2 separate regions of the Homo sapiens genome follow, and region 1 is linked to region 2. The links are contacts of gene promoters, found by promoter capture Hi-C in human tissues and cell types (Jung and others, 2019). All regions are on one chromosome and are shown on one strand. The core of a region is centred on a gene start or on the middle of the fragment in contact, and the rest is flanking DNA. Distances in the headings are between cores, read along the strand shown.

Region 1 (2,787 bases), core at 78-2,577, 85 kb before region 2:
TGAAGAGTAGGTCAGCATCGTAAGAAAACCTTGTTGTGCTTTTATTTCAAAGTTTAATTTACAGAAAAAAATATATAATACCCTTTTGAATTTAGTCAATATGTTCACACACATAGTTTCCTTTGCAAGATTAATATTTACAGTCTTTTCACAATTTGCTTAAACCTTCTGCTTTATTTTATCTAATTTAAGACAATCCTTTATCTCTAGGCAAAATGGACATTTCCATGCCTTCTTATAATCTTTTAACTAAAAACACATTTTGCTGTTTTTACACACCTTGCATGCAAATCCATGTTCAGTAGTCTCAATTACATGTCATAATGGTAACTCTTAGCGATTTTTAACTTTAATGTAAAGCCTGGTAAGTTGTTTTAATTATGTGCTAGATGCAGATAAAGTCTGATTCCTTTCAGCGTAGTTAGGAGCATGGTCACTTCTATTTGTTCCCAGACCATACTAATTGTGAAGCAGGCAAGTTGACAGTTTTTAAAAGGCCAAAGAAGCAGTTTGCAACCTTAAAACATTTAGCAAAGCTAGTATCTGACCTGCATAATAAATTAGACCACATTTTTACACCTTGAAGACGTTTGTATTTTACCAATAATTCTTGTCTGTTTTTATTTTAAATATTAAAGTCATATGAACTGAAAGGTACCACAGCTTTTACTTTTACTGCAAAATATTTTATTTCAGTGCTTATTATTCTTAGGCCAATTAATTGGCCTTTTTATAGACTTCACATATATATCACATGTATGACTACACAGACAGACAGAAGAAGATCCAGCAGCTCAGGGTGGAGCCCTTTTACGAACAGGGGTATGAATATAGTTTTCAGGGCTTAATAAACAAGCACAGCCAGAAGACAAAGACAGATGTTGAGAGGGGCTTATCCACCTCTAATTCCAGGGGTTCCATGAGGAAAACAGGGATTTCTCCAAAATGGGATTTGTGGCACCTTAATCTATTTCCCAGGGAGTCCCAGGCCACCAGAAGTCATTCTAGGGTCTTTCACGTATGCATCAAGAATGATAAGACACAGTGGAAAAAAGTAATTCAGTTGACTGAAAAAAAACAACAACAACAAAAAACCTTTTCCAGAAAAACAAGATCTATGAAGAGAAAAACATAAAGGCCTTTTACATATACCCATAGCTCGGATATCCACTTTGAGGTAAGCTGAGCATTCTTTAAGAAAATCCTTTCTCATTAATTAAAATTTTACAGAGAATGTAAACAGTGATCTTCATCATTCCTTTTACTGGTTTGCACCACTACCTTTTCACAATCATGTTCAAGTTCTCCAGTTTCCTTTGGGAGAAAATGGCTCGGCTCTAGCAAGGGCAGGTTTTCCTCTGGACCACAGATCCCTCCAGTAGCAAAGCTTGATAGTTAAGGAGGCGATTGTCTGTTAGCCAGGGACTTTCCTTAGAGGGCAGCACTCCTGCTATATTGTATGGGTTGTAAACAGTTGTTTCCCATGGGTAACCCAGTGGCCTCTGGCACCAACAAAGCTGCCATTGTAACTGCTTAGAGGCAGGCTAACCAGCCTTTAGCCACCAAGTTAAGTTCCTCACTTAGGTAACCCACTGGCTGTTGAGCTGGACCTCAAGCTTCAGCCAGAATTCCCAGGGCCATTTCCTTCTTTTCTGAAGCATAGAGACTGAATGCTTTTCCTTTGGGAAGACTGGGGGTTGATGCTTTAAGTAAGGCTTGCTTTAGTTGGTTAAAGGCAGGTTCCCAAGTTAGTGAGTGAGTTTTAACTGCTTGAGTTTCGTTATGAGGTGGTATAAAGGGCAAGCTATTTCACGGTATCCAGGTACACACAGTCTGCAAAATCCACTAATGCCTAAGAATCCCCTCAACTGTTAAAGGAAATGGGCATCCTTTCTTCACCTGATGCTCTAGTCCCTTCTGATAAGACTAGACCTAGGTACTTTACTGAAGTCTGACAGAGCCAAGCTTTAGATTTTCAGACCCTATATCCCCTTTCAGCTAAGAAACTGAAGAGAGCCTCAGTGCCTCCCTGAGACTTCCTTGGTTGGGGGACAGAGGAGAGTGTTATTTATGTACTGCAAAGTTTCAACTCGAGGGTGAGAAAAATTAGATCTTTGGACAGGGCCTGTTTCAGCAACTTTCTTCCCATATTAAGGGCTGTCTGAGTAATAAACCTGTTCTTTATTGAATAAAAAGGTTTAAAGATTTTTATTTAGCTTTTGGACTATCATGGAAAGCTTGGAAGAGTTAATAGGTTTGGCTCTAATCCCCTGCAAGTTCTCCAATATACACATTTGAAAGAGTTTCCTTCCCCATTTTCTGATGCTATCATCATGGTCCCATTTATGGTCCTCCAAGGGCACTGGTATTTTCCCCACTTGCTTCTCCATCCCTGGAACATCCAGGAGAGTTTAAATACTTGGGTTAAATCTTGGAAGGCCTCTATACGGCAGTGAAGTTGGGGCTTGCCCCGAGTGAACTTTAGGGTCTGAGGACTAAAGGAGATCCAGGCTGCACTCAGGGGTAGTGCAGACTTGAAGATGGGGTGTTATCCATGTAGAAAAGAGGCAAGAGAAGAGGCATCCCTCAGTCTCCTTCTCTTCAGAGTGACCCAAGATGGAGGGAAAGGCTGGAGGGGCATCCCCCTTCACCCCCTTCCTCCCGTCCTTTGGGTCCCAGTGACCATCCTTCATAGGTGCCGCCCCATGTTTGCAAGTATGACCTTCATTTATGGTCCTGGAGAAGCTAGTCAGCATAACTAGTCATGCTCATCTGCTTATGGCCTTG
Region 2 (2,700 bases), core at 197-2,696:
CAGCTACTCGGGAGGCTGAGGCAGGAGAATCGCTTGAACTCGAGAGGCGGAGGTTGCAGGATCGCGCCACTGCACTGCACTCCATCCTGGGCGACAGAGCAAACTGTCTCAAAAGAAAAAAAAATCATTTATCACTAAATTTACTCACCAAAAGAACTTGCAAAAAAAAAACCCAAAACCCTACTGCCTAAAATATATTTTAAAACGTATTTGTGTTTAAGCAGCATATATCTTTTGATAAATAATGACGCATGGTAGCTAACTAGTAAAGATGCAGCTTTCATATTAGCCACGCCCATCCCTCTCTCCGCCCTCCACAAGCACGTCCCCGCAAGCGCGCAGGAACATACACGCGTACGCGCGCACACACACGTACACACGCGCGCGCCCGCGAACACATACATACAAGCAGGCGCGCCCAAACGCCGGCAGCACACAGGCGCGCACGCGCTTTTCAGGACTCAGGAAATGCGCTTTCTGCTCCCCGCGCCCGGTAGAGCTAATGCAGGGAAGTTTCTGGGAACATTCGACCAGCGTTTGTATTGGTGAGGTTCCAAGTTTCCTTTAAAATGATATGACTCCGCCCTTCTCCAAAACCGTTTGAGGAGAAATGGAAAAGGTTGGGCGTGGAGGTGAAAAGGAGCCCTGTTGTCAACTGGTCCGTACTCCACCTCAGGAGGCGGCCAACTTGGTGCGCCCAAGAATAAAAACATTTCCCTTGTAAGAACATGCAAGTGTTTAGAAACGCCCCCCCACCCCCCCGCAAGGCGTTTGTGAGGGGGACCTGTCACAGTTGAGAAGTCAGGATGGGCGTTTTCCTCCCAGGAGGTGCCCTATTAATTTGCGGCCTCGATAGTTGGTCAAGCCGGGATGTTAGCTGCGGAACCTCCAGGACCGAAGAGCGCCAATTCTCCTGAGTTCTCCTTGGTTTGGGTTTCCCACAAAAGAGTGGTCACACCAAAAACTCTGTCTCCACAAATGCGAAACGGGCTCGAAACTTTTTTTTCCCCACACGATCACTTCCCACACCACTCCCATCCCTTTATGTTTCGCCTCAGGAGTCGAGGAACTTCTCTGAAAACCAATTCTACGATATTCCAGCAGCTAAACACAGCCCGAATTCCCTAGAAACAGAGAGAGCGAGAGAAAACACTGTAAACCCCAATCACACGCTCCTGTTTTCCCGGTACTGAAAAAAAAAAAAAAAAAAAAAAGTGGGTCCGTGGCCGCGCTATGCATGCTAGGATTAGTAGTTCCTCCGTCCCTCATGGCGCGGGGTCAGGGCGGAGCTCAGGTTGACTCTGCAGCAGAGAACTACAATTCCCATGGGGCCGCGCGGCAGAAAGAAAGGGGCGGGACGGGAGGGGGCGCGTCGCGCTTGCGCAGGTCCCGGGGCCGGAGGGAGGCGGAGGCGTAGCGGTCCAACTGCTGAAGTCCCCATGTGACAGTGAGCGGGGTCCCCGCTCCAGGAGACGCTCGAGTCTGCGTCCCGGCCCTCAGCACTGTCCACTGTTTCGGTGCCAGCAGAGACCAGCAGGCCCGGGACAGTTGGTGTTTGGCCGTGCCGCTGTCTAACTTGGTGTGCAGAGTGAATTGCCGCTGCCGGAGCGGAGAGAGGCGGAGCGGCCAGGAGAGAGGGGATTTCTGTCAGCGCCGGCCTCGGGAGCTCGGAGACATGAACGGCTTCACGCCTGACGAGATGAGCCGCGGCGGGGATGCGGCCGCCGCAGTGGCCGCAGTGGTCGCTGCCGCGGCCGCCGCCGCCTCGGCGGGGAACGGGACCGGCGCGGGCACCGGGGCTGAGGTGCCGGGCGCGGGGGCGGTCTCAGCGGCTGGGCCCCCGGGGGCGGCCGGGCCGGGCCCCGGGCAACTGTGCTGCCTGCGGGAGGATGGTGAGCGGTGCGGCCGGGCGGCAGGCAACGCCAGCTTCAGCAAGAGGATCCAGAAGAGCATCTCCCAGAAGAAGGTGAAGATCGAGCTGGATAAGAGCGTAAGTAAACCGCGGGACCGCCCTGCCCTCCCGCCCCTCGGTGGGGCCCCAGGAGCCGGGCAAAGGCACGGGTTGTCGGCGGGGTCCCCCAGACAACCGCACTGGCTGCAGTGCGGTCTCGTGGAGTCTGTGTTTGGAAGCAAATAACAAAGTCGCTGCAACTCCTACCGCCACCCCAACACACACACCACACACAGGCTGTCGTTCCCCTCTTCTTTCCCACCCTGGCCCCCAACCTCCCGCTGCCTGCGTCTCTCCCGCGCAGTCTTCCCTCTTCCTTCTCCTCTGCGACCGGGACACGAAACAAAGGGGACCGGCGCACTGAGGGCCCAGAGTAGTTTTCTTGCAGCCCGGCAGCTCTTCTGGAATGGAGGCGCCTTTGTTTTGCTGCCCAAGCTGGTGTTTGGCCCCAGGCGGTACTAAATCCCGTCGTCTAGGAGAAAGCGGAGGACCTTCACGAACAAGGAAGATCCTGTTCTTTTCTGTGTTCCGTCTCCTCCGGAGCGGAGTGAGAGGGAAGCCGAGCTCACCCGCCGCCTGGCAGTGAGCCGGGGTTGTAAACGGCGTTTGCGCTGTCAGCTCCGAGGGCAGCTACTCCGATGGTGGGGAGCACGTAGCCTCTGCGGTTTTGCCATCCCCTTGGCAGCCATCAGGATTTTTTGCACGTCTTTTCGTTTGACCATCTATGAGGTTTTTAGAAACAGCCGTTG

What was found. The method cuts DNA at HindIII sites, captures the fragments that hold promoters and counts their contacts. A contact is called where the count stands out against the background at its distance.
Region 1: a contact is called between a fragment that was not itself captured here and the fragment with the promoter of SAP30 in region 2, in 4 of the 25 tissues and cell types used here (aorta, mesenchymal stem cells, mesendoderm cells and 1 more).

What each region holds. Positions count from the first base shown.
Region 1 is chr4:173,284,943-173,287,729 of GRCh38, forward strand. All of the region lies in intron 2 of GALNT7 (polypeptide N-acetylgalactosaminyltransferase 7), which reads left to right. It overlaps LOC124900812 (a long non-coding RNA gene), which reads right to left. Exons shown (of 3, transcript XR_007058367.1): 1 at 1-2,787. Among named protein-coding and RNA genes, the nearest start is that of MIR548T, 18 kb to the left of the region's middle. The HindIII fragment of the contact is 4,128 bases long and covers 1-2,787 here.
Region 2 is chr4:173,369,508-173,372,207 of GRCh38, forward strand. It overlaps SAP30 (Sin3A associated protein 30), which reads left to right and starts at 1,447. Exons shown (of 4, transcript NM_003864.4): 1 at 1,447-1,990. The coding sequence starts at 1,676. SAP30-DT (SAP30 divergent transcript) reads right to left here and starts at 1,191. Exons shown (of 4, transcript NR_183973.1): 1 at 785-1,191; 2 at 1-103. RefSeq lists enhancers at 668-907, 1,991-2,554, 2,258-2,557 and silencers at 1,308-1,477, 1,758-2,137. The HindIII fragment of the contact is 15,433 bases long and covers 1-2,700 here.